Regions from separate parts of the Homo sapiens genome. Here region 2 is linked to region 1. Evidence: promoter capture Hi-C in 16 types of primary human blood cells and fetal thymus (Javierre and others, 2016). All regions are on one chromosome and are shown on one strand. Each heading gives the region's core, a stretch centred on a gene start or on the middle of the fragment in contact. The rest is flanking DNA. Distances are from core to core; before and after follow the strand shown. Region 1 holds the start of OSTC (oligosaccharyltransferase complex non-catalytic subunit). Region 2 holds the start of CASP6 (caspase 6).

Region 1 (5,128 bases), core at 1,459-3,958:
CCCTTTAGTTTCTCAAAAACCTCTTGTTCTTTTCTTTCACTGTATTTATAACCATTGTTTGTTTGTTTTTATTTTTTGAGAGAGGGTCGGGTCTTGCTCTGTCACCCTGGCTGGAGTGCAGTGGTGCCATCACAGCTTACTGCAGCCTCAGCTTCCCAGGCTCAGGCGATCCTCCCACTTCAAACTCCTGCACCATAGTCCCAGCTACTTGGGACTACAGGCGTGCGCCACCAGGCTCAGCTAATTTTGGGGTTTGTTTTTTGTTTCTGAAACAGGGCCTTGCTCTGTTGCCCAGGCTGGAGTGCAGTGGCACCATCTCGGCTCACTGCAACCTTCACCTCCCGGGTACAAGCAATTCTCCTGCCTCAGCCTCACAAGTAGCTGGGACTACAGGCGTGTACCACCACGCCTGGTTAATTTTTTGTATTTTCAGTAGAGACAGGGTTTCGCCATGTTGCCCAGGCTGGCCTCGAACTCCTGGGCTCAAATGATCCAACTGGCTCAGGCTCCCAAAGTGTTGGATTACAGGCGTGAGCCACTGCGCCTGGCCTGTTTTTGTGAACATTTTTAACGGACAAAAAAATTAAGTGACATTTAATATGTCTCATCTATGACATTATAAGCTTCAGGAGGTCAGGGTCCTTATGTTTTGTTCTATTATCTCCAGTACCTAGTGCCTGAAACTTAACGGGACTCAGTATCTATTTGCTGACTATTTGTCAGCAACAAATAGTTTATTTATAAAGGTGCACTCAGTTTTTAGAAGAGACTTCTTCCCTTCCAGTGGCAAAACCAATTCATCATACAAGATACCTCATAGACCTGGCCACTAAAAAGCAACCTTTCCACTTTCCCCCAATGGTTGGGACAAAGAATCTCCCCATTACAATAATCAACAGGAGAAAAAAGAGGGCCACAAAGAAAACTGAGGCTTCTCGCAAAGAATCCGACTCCAAGGGAAGTAAGGGTTACAGGAAAGAAACTAGCATTATTCATTATTATTATTGAATAATGACTTTTTTTTTGTCCAACGACCTTCGTGAACTGTGCAAAAATATGGAACGCTTCACGAATTTGCGAGTCATTCTTGCACAGGGGCCATGGTAATCTTCTCCCTATCATTCCAATTTTAGTATATGTGCTGCCGAAGCGAGCACTCAATAATAATACTGAATTATTCTATATTATTTATTTTTAAAAGTCTATTATTTTTAAAAGCCACATGCATTTTAAATTTTGTTTATTCAGTACAGTAGCTATTAACTTGATGAGCAAATGTTAATGGTTAATGCTAATGCAATGCTAGATAGTATCTTGTTACCAAATAAGTATTTAAATGTAACTCAAATATTTAAATGTAATTTATTTAAATGAACGTAAGTTAATTCTCACTATTCTAGATTGGGGGAAGGAGGTAAATTCAAAGGTGCTTTCTAGAACTCAGCTCTCTCAGTTTGAATCCTCCCCCTTCAGTGCCAACTATTCTCACAAAACATCTATGAAAATAACAATTATATGGCCACTCCCTTAAAAGTAGAACTACTTTTGCTATCCCAAATCCGTAGCTTTAATTTTATAATTTCCAGGTTAAGTACACCACTTCCCAAAATCTAAATTAATTTTATAATTTCCAAGTTAAGTACACCACTTCCCCAAATCTAAATGTACACAGTAGCACAGTTCTAAGTAAATCTTGGAACTGTGGCCTGAAAGGGTAGTGGCTCTGAAAAGACTAGCCGGATTGCCAACTCACCAGTACATAAGGCAACGCCCCTTTGCAATTTTCTATTTGAAAAGGACAGAATAAGATGATAGACAATTCAGAAGCGTTTAATAGTAATGCTATTTATCTTATTTTTTTAATTCTCAACTTCTGCCCACTGAAATACAGTATCGTCTGCAAATCTCATCTCCAATCTCAAATATTTATCAAACCTGTGATTTCAGAAAATTCCATTGATATTTATTGTAGGTCATGCAAAAGGCAACACAGAACCCTAGGTTTGAGCCAACAAAACTAAAGATTGTCAAGTCTCTTCCAAGATTCCAGGACAAAGATAAGTTTAAAAGTCCCACAAGCTCTTGACCAACCATGGAAGCGGAGTTGGCCAAATTAGACCTTCCCAGGACCTTTATCAAACAACCAACCATGGAAACGGAGTTTGCCAAATTAGGCTTTCCCAGGACATTTATCAAACAACGTATGGCAAGCAACAAAAAGAGCAACAATTTGGCCTTGAAAAATATATTTGACTCGGATCCCTGGGATGGGAGGGCTAGAAGGAGAAGAAAGGCAATGGGAGTGAGAACACGAATTCTCTTAAGACAGGGCGTGAAGGCGAATAAACTTGGACGTTAACACTTCGGACCCCAGAACTCCCCTCCACCCTCAGAAAAGATCCAAAGCAGAGCTATGCTTCCCCCGGGGCTGAGAGTCAGCGGAACAGACGCGCCTCCCGGGGCGGGTCAGTTCTCCGCTCCTCAGCCTCTCGGGCCCGACAGCCCGAGTTACCTCCGGTGATGAGGAAGTAAGACACCACCACCAGAGCATACACAGTCATGGCCGACGGCATGTGCAACCAGGGCGGCTTCTTCAGCTTCAGGTTGGGACATTCGAGCACTAAGAACGGGACACGGTACAAAGTCTCCATGTTGGTGGCAGCAAGGGCCGTTCTCGGCCTCAAGCCCCACGCGCCTCCCGGAAACAGGCCCGCCCTCCCTAACAAGTGCGCGTGCGCGAGGAAAGGACCCGCAGATCCGTAAAGCTCGGAGGTGGTTACTATACTCATAGAAGAAAATAAGAAACTAAATAAAACAAATAAATGATATGAATAAAGTGTTGTAAATTATTTAATCTAATTAAACTTACATTGTGATAATGTACTCTACATTTTTCTAATGGATATATAGGTGATTTGTGTACCTTCAAGGACCTGCGGGACTTCTAACGTGGCCAAGCCGGAGAAGCGGAGGCCAAGGAATCTAGGTGAGCCCCGCCCACTCGCTGACGCAGGGGATTTGAAAGCTGATTGGACAGGGGGCGCTCCCGGTTCCCAGAGCGGGAGATGAATGGGAACTTTTGGATATAAATGCCTTTTATATTAGAGGTTTTTTCAAGGGTTAGGAAAAGCCGGAGGCTGCTGAGCTTTTACTTCCCGATGTAGTCGTGGTAATAATAAGAATTAATAATAGTTGCTAAAGTAATATGTTACCAATTTTTTTTAAACATCCAGCCTGGATCACAAATGTCAACAGGACATCTCTACAGGGATGCCTTAATGCTGATAGCTTGGCGTGACCATAATACTATTTTGAATAACTCATCCTCTCAACTTTGCTCTTCCCTTGGTCATCTGTATGTCGCTAAAAGGTAAAATCCCTCTGGCCAAAAATCTTAAAGTCGTCTGGATTTCTCTCCTTACTAACCTTCTGCATCCAAAATATTAGTAGGTCTCTTTGGCTGTACTACCAAAATATCTCCAATTCATCTGCCCCTCACCATTCCACCACTGACACCCTAGTGTGAACCACCGCCATCTCTGGTCTGGGCAACATTTACAATCCAAATAGATGAAAATATATGATGGAGAATTAGTCATTAGGGATGGACTAGAAGGTCTAAAAGATTTTTTGTTTTCTGTTTTGCTTTTCTTTTTTATATAATCTTTTAAGACTCTACAAATGTTAACTTCCTTTTGGAGCAAGAGTTAAGAGTCACTGATTACATAAGTCCAGAGCATATTGACACATTATAGAGCCAATGTTTTTATATTTTTTTATTTGCTTGTTACTAAGCCCGTGGTTATTTTTACAGGATGCCATGTATTGGTTCTGCACTTCTAATTAGCTAACAACTCAATTGTTAAGAAATTGCTTGAAGACGGTAATGAAAATACTATCAAAACATTGTAGTATCCAATTCTAAGTACAGTTGAGGCTTGCTGCCCTTACTGTTCATTAGTGAGAGTCTCTCCCAGAGTCATATTGCCTATGTCTTAACGGAGCCACACGAATCTTAGGTTATGTAAAGGCCAATGATAACACCAATAATGAATGCATTTACACCAAAACCAGCGTTTATATGTAGGAAGTTTCTCTGGGCACTGTAAAGCAGAATGTTTCTGAAATTCCCACAGTTTTATAAGTAAGGAACACTTTGGAACAATTAAAATATTTTGCTTTGGTATGAAGAAAAAAATAAAAATAAAACATTTTGCTTTGGAAAAACATAGGGATTAAAGGTTTTTAAATTTCCTTTATAGCTTAAAAAGGAATCTAACATTAATTAACCACTGCTTGGCAGGTACTATGTTAAGTGATTTACATTTGTGCTTATATACTCTTCATGACAATTCTGTTAGGTAAATACTAGTATAACTGCTTTACATATGACAAAAGTGGCTCCTGGGAAGGGAAATAAACTCAAAAAGTGTAGTATAGTCTGTGACTGGATGAGACCTAAAAGGCAATTGCTGTAGAAGTAAATAGATTTAAGACGTTTAAAATGGTATACGTTTATATACTTATCCTTCTTCCTGTGTATACTAGGGACACATAATTTCTACCTACATTGTGGAAAACATATAAATTATTAATATATAATTTTTAAATGAAAAATTAATTTCATAAATAATAAAACTGCCAAGTCAGAACACACTGCATTCATCTATATGTTAAATTATTACTATCACTTTCCAAAAAGTAAGTTTGCTCCAGGAACCAATTCATTATTATTTTTTAACCTCTTAAGCTTTGAAATATTTTTCAACATGAGTTTGTAATATTCTATAAGCCACGTATAAAAGAGACCTTTCATGAGTAAGATATGCATATCTGTTATCATCCATGTCCTAACCCACAATTCCTACAGAAAAATGTTCTATTTAAACATAACATAAACTCTGTAACTGAAAACCAAAGAAATAATGAATATAGCAGTGGGCATTAGAGCATGCCCTTAAATAAACATATAATCAATCATTCAGTGGTTTTCTATTTATAGATGAAGAAGGAAAAATGTTGAGAGAAACACAGTTTACAATATAATATGCAGTAGAGCTGTCATCTTAAGCTACATATAAAAGCAAATGTTAATAATTCTTACTGTGCACAAGCAAATATATATTCA
Region 2 (4,863 bases), core at 975-3,474, 1.1 Mb before region 1:
TTTTTTCCCCCTCTAGTCTCTAGTTACATACCGTAAGTGGATATTTTGACCTCCCATGAATCACAAATGTTCTTAATGGCATCTCGAATGATGAATCCTTTCCAGAAGATTTTCAATTTACTTTGCTCAGAACTATCAGAGGAATCATGATGACAGCTATAGCCTTATGAAATGTATTTTGTAAATAAGACTTGAAAGTCAAAATTTCTCCTTGATCCCTGGGCTTCAGAATGGATGTTGTGTTAGCAAGCACGATAACAGCATCAGTCTCTGTACATCTCTATCAGAACTCTTGGATGACCAGGTGTATTGTCAATGAGGAGTAATATTTTGAAAGGAACCTTTCTTCTGAGCACTAGAGCTCAACAGTGGGCTTTAAATATTCTCTAAGCCATGCTGTAAATAGATGTGCTGTCACTAACTAGCCTTTGTTGGTCCATTTATAGATCATATTTAGCATAATTCTTAAGGGCACTAGGATTTTCAGAATGGTAAAGGAATGTTGGCTTTAAAGTCATCAGTTGTATTAGCCCCTAACAAGAGCATCAGCCTGTTCTTTGAAGCTTTGAAGACAGGCATTGACTTCTCTCTAGCTATGAAAGTCTTAGATGGAATCTTCTTCCAATAGAAGGCCGTTTCATATACATTTAAGATCTGTTGTTTTGGCTGGGCACGGTGGCTCACACCTGTAATCCCAGCACTTTGGGAGACCGAGGCGGGCAGATTGCTCAAGGTCAGGAGTTCAAGACCAGCCTGGCCAAACATGGTGAAACTCTGTCTCTACTAAAAATACAAAATTAACCTGGACATGGTGGCACATCCTGTAATCCCAGTTACTTGGGAGGCTGAGGCAGAAGAATCGTTTGAACCCAGGAGGCAGAGGTTGCAAAAGATCGCACCACTGTACTCCAGCCTTGGTGACAAAGCAAGACTGTCTCAAAAACAAAAGATTGTTGTTTAGTGTAGCTGCCTTTATCAATGATTTTAGCTAGATCTGGATAACCTGATGCAGCTTCTACGTTAGCACCTGCTGCTTCACCTTGCACTTTTATGTCATGAAGATAGTTTCTTTCCTTAAACCTCAGGAACCATCCTCTCTGCTAGCTTCCAGCTTTTCTTTTGCAATTCCCTCACCTCTCTCAGCCTCCATAGAATTGAAGAGTTAGGGCCTTGCTCTGGATTAGGCTTTGGCTTAAGGGAATGTTGTGGCTGTTTTTATCTTCTATCCAGACCAACTAGAACTTTCTCCATATCAGCAATAAGGCTGTTTAGCTTTATTGTCTTTTGTGTGTTTACTGGAGTAGCATTTTTAATTTCCTTCAAAATTTTTTCCTTTGCATTCATGACTTGGCTTTTCTCCTTTGCACTCACAACTTGGCTAACTGGAGCAAGAAGCCTAGCTTTCTGCCTACCAACATTACTTCCTCACTAACTTAATCATGTTTGCTTTTGATTTAAAGTGACAGGCTCTTCCTTTCATTTGGACACTTAGAGGCCTTTGTAGGATTATTAGTTGGCCTAATTTCAAAATTGTGTTTCCAGGAATAGGGAGGCCCCAGGAGGGGGAGAGAGAAGGGAAAGTTCGGTGGAACAGTCCAAACACATACAGGGCTTATGGATTAATTTCCCCTTCCTTTATGAGCGCGGTTCATGGTGCCCCAAAACAATTGCAATAATATTAAAGATTACTGATCACAGATCACAACAGCAGACATAATAACAATGAAAAATTTTGAAATATTGCGAGAGTACCAAAATGTGACACAGAGACACAAAGCGAGCCAATGTTGAAATACAGGCAGTATCTGCTAAGCGGTATAAAACAATCTATGCCTGTACCTCTAGAAAGTACAGGCATAGCAAAGTAAGGAATAGCAAATGTTTGGGGCAGCTGGGATTAAATGAGTCCGAGCTCACACAAGTGATGTGAAATTGCCTCGGGCTAGGCGGTCTGTGTGTCCCCCCGGGTGGCAACTGGCATGTCCCCAGGGCACGGTTAGTCCCAGCGGGCCTGGAGGCGAAGACCGCGTACCTCTCCCTGCCCCCGCGCTCTTGGTCCCCGCGGGCTCCGGAGCGACTGGGAGGAGCTTTAACTCTGGGAAGGACCAGCCCGATCCACGGGAGCCCGGGCGGCGCGCAATCAGAACCAACTGGCCCCACGCTCGGGGGCAGGGGGCGGGGCCGCCGAGGAAGGGCCGAGGGCGGGGCCGGGCCCGGGAGCCTGTGGCTTCAGGAAGAGGAGGGCAAGGTGTCTGGCTGCGCGTTTGGCTGCAATGAGCTCGGCCTCGGGGCTCCGCAGGGGGCACCCGGCAGGTAGGCAGGGGGCGTCGACTGGGCACCGAGCAGGTCTGCGTCTTGCTCCGGCTGGAGGGGAAACGAGGGTTAGTGGACCGGGCGCGCGGACCGGAGTGGGGCCGCGGGTTCCTTCGGCTTTGCAGGGCGGCCTGGAGAAGTTGCACTCTTGGATTGAAGCGCTCAGGGCGGGTGGGGACGGTTTCGCGCTTCAGTCTAAGAAACACTCGGGGACCTGGCTGCCGCCTCCTGGCGGTCCCGAGTAGCGACGCCGGCGCCGGGGCGTGCCCCTGCCGCCTTTGTCCTCCGGGGCGATGAGCGCTTTCGGGGCGCCCCGGCTGTTTAAACCTTAAAAGGCTGTCCCCACGCGGGCCTGGCGTTCCCCCACACCTGGCCGTTTGAAATGTTGGGGGTTGGATCTTTTGTTTGCTCACTTCGAAAAGTGAAAAGGAGGGGTTGTTCCGCCGAGTCATAATGAAAACATAACAGGCCCGCGGGGTGCCCGGGCCAAGACCCTGGGTCCTCCCGGGCTTCAGCTGGAGGCGGCCAGTTCCTGGCGGCCAGCACACCCCGGTATCTCTCTTCTTCATCCAGGAAACCTGCTGCTGTCTGTCGGTTTGAGCCAAAACCACAATAACTTTTTTCTGCAAAGTAATCAACTGCTAAGAGCGTACGTTCTGTCACTTATTACTGGTAAAGTTTAGAAACTTCAAGCCTGGCCAGAGTGAAACAAACAAAAAGGTCGAAACGCCTGCAGTTGGCCGGCCGTGGTGGCTCACGCCTTGTAATCCCAACACTTTGGGAGGCCGAGGCGGGCGGATCACCAGAGGTCGGGAGTTCTCGACCAGCCTAACTAACACGGTGAAACCCCGTCTCTACTAAAAATACAAAAAAATTAGCCAGGCCTGGGCGCAAGCTACTGGGGAGGCTGAGACAAGAGAATCGTTTGAACCCTGGAGGTGGAGGTTGCAGTGAGCCGAGATCGCCCCACTGCACTCCAACCTCGGCGACAGAGTGAGACTTCGAATCAAGAAGAAAAAAAAAAAAAAAGAACGAAACGCCTGCAGTTGGTTAGAGTGCCTTTGTTTAAGAACTCTTTATATTTTGCTGCACAAAGGAAATGGTGCTCCAGAGGCAAGCTGTAAAAGTCACATGGTCGTAGAGGAGGTAGATAGGTAGCCTTGTCCTGGAGGCACAGTGCAGGGTCCAGTTGCAGTCTCTAGGGGCGGGAAGCCGGGGCTTTCCTTCACTCACCTGCTCCCTTCCTCTTCTTCCTCCACCGCACTCCCCAGTGCATGTTCTAGGCCTGATGGAGGTTACTCTACATAGGGTTACTAAATACATTGTTGATGGAGCCGATGGGTAGATTTTCATAGAGAGTGCAGTGAATGAAGACGATGACAGTAGAATGACCGAAGTCGTTTGGGAAGTTGAACAAAGTTTAGAAAGGTAGCCGGTCTCGGGTGGGAGGGGCTGCGTGGGGATGGGCCTACAGAGACTTTGGAATCTGTAGGTGGGCTGGCTTTCAATCCCAGCTTCACTTTGCCGACCTTGGCACGCCTGGCCCACTTTCTCTGTCCCTGTTCCTGAGCTGTGGAGCTGTGAGATAAGGTATCTAAGGCATCAGGCCATCAACAAATGGTAGCTGGCAGGATTATCTGGAGGGACTATCAAATTAGAGTGAGGTGAAAAAAGGAATGATTAGTTTTGTAAAACCTAAGCTGATTTAAGGAATAAGGAGGTGGCAGTTACATTATCCTGCAAAGGAAGAGAAGTGAAAAGAGGGCCAGACACAGTGGTGGGCGCCTCTAGTCCCAGCTACTGGGGAGACTGAGGCAGGAGAATCGCTTGAAACCTGGAGGTGGACTTGCAGTGAGCCAAGATTGCGCCACTGCACTGCAGCCTGGGCGACAGAGGGAGGCTCTGTCTCAAAAAAAAAAAGTGAAAAGAGGTCAAGAATCAGGTTTAAAGAAGGGCACATTTTTGATAAGTAGATTGCAGATGAAAAGGAATTTCTATATCTGTTATACAGGGTAGCTCCTTCATTAAAATTTATTTTCTCCATATCAATAAAGCTATTTCTTACTTTATCCAGGTTTTTAAATATTAACGCAGGCCGGGCGTGGTGGCTCATGCTTGTAATCCCAGCACTTCCAGGAGGCTGAGGCAGGTGGATCACTTGAGGCCAGGAGTTCAAGACCAGCCAGGACAACATAGCAAAACCCTGTCTCTACTGAAAATACAAAAAAAAAGTAGCTGGGTGTGGTGGCGCATGCCTGTAATCCCAGCTACTCAGGAGGCTGAGGCGGGAGAATCGCTTGAACCCGGAGGCGGAGGTTGTGGTGAGCCGAGACCACGCCACTGCACTCCAGCCTAGGCAACAGAGCAAGACTCCATCCCAAAAAGATAGTAATAAAAAATAAATATTAATGCGGCATAATGATACTTAAGTGCCCCCTTCTGGAAAGCTTGTCTTCTTGGGATACACAGCTCAAGGTGGTCATGATGTGTTATTTTCTCTCAATCTGTGGGTAAAGTTTATCAACTCCAGAAAAGTATTGGAACTTAGGT

The links. Contacts are between HindIII fragments. The CHiCAGO score rates a contact against its expected background, and 5 or more counts as called.
Region 2: a contact is called between the fragment with the promoter of CASP6 here and the fragment with the promoter of OSTC in region 1, in 4 of 17 cell types (total CD8 T cells, M1 macrophages, fetal thymus and 1 more). The highest score is 11.7, in total CD8 T cells.

Annotation. Positions count from the first base shown.
Region 1 is chr4:108,648,179-108,653,306 of GRCh38, reverse strand. It overlaps OSTC (oligosaccharyltransferase complex non-catalytic subunit), which reads right to left and starts at 2,708. Exons shown (of 4, transcript NM_021227.4): 1 at 2,513-2,708. The coding sequence starts at 2,651. It also overlaps the pseudogene RNU6-431P. RefSeq lists enhancers at 1-312, 1,755-1,804, 2,419-2,768. The HindIII fragment of the contact is 4,127 bases long and covers 626-4,752 here.
Region 2 is chr4:109,700,806-109,705,668 of GRCh38, reverse strand. CASP6 (caspase 6) reads left to right here and starts at 2,224. Exons shown (of 7, transcript NM_001226.4): 1 at 2,224-2,313. The coding sequence starts at 2,274. RefSeq lists enhancers at 1,803-1,852, 2,743-2,802, 3,563-3,622 and silencers at 2,013-2,302, 2,453-2,562. The HindIII fragment of the contact is 4,197 bases long and covers 566-4,762 here.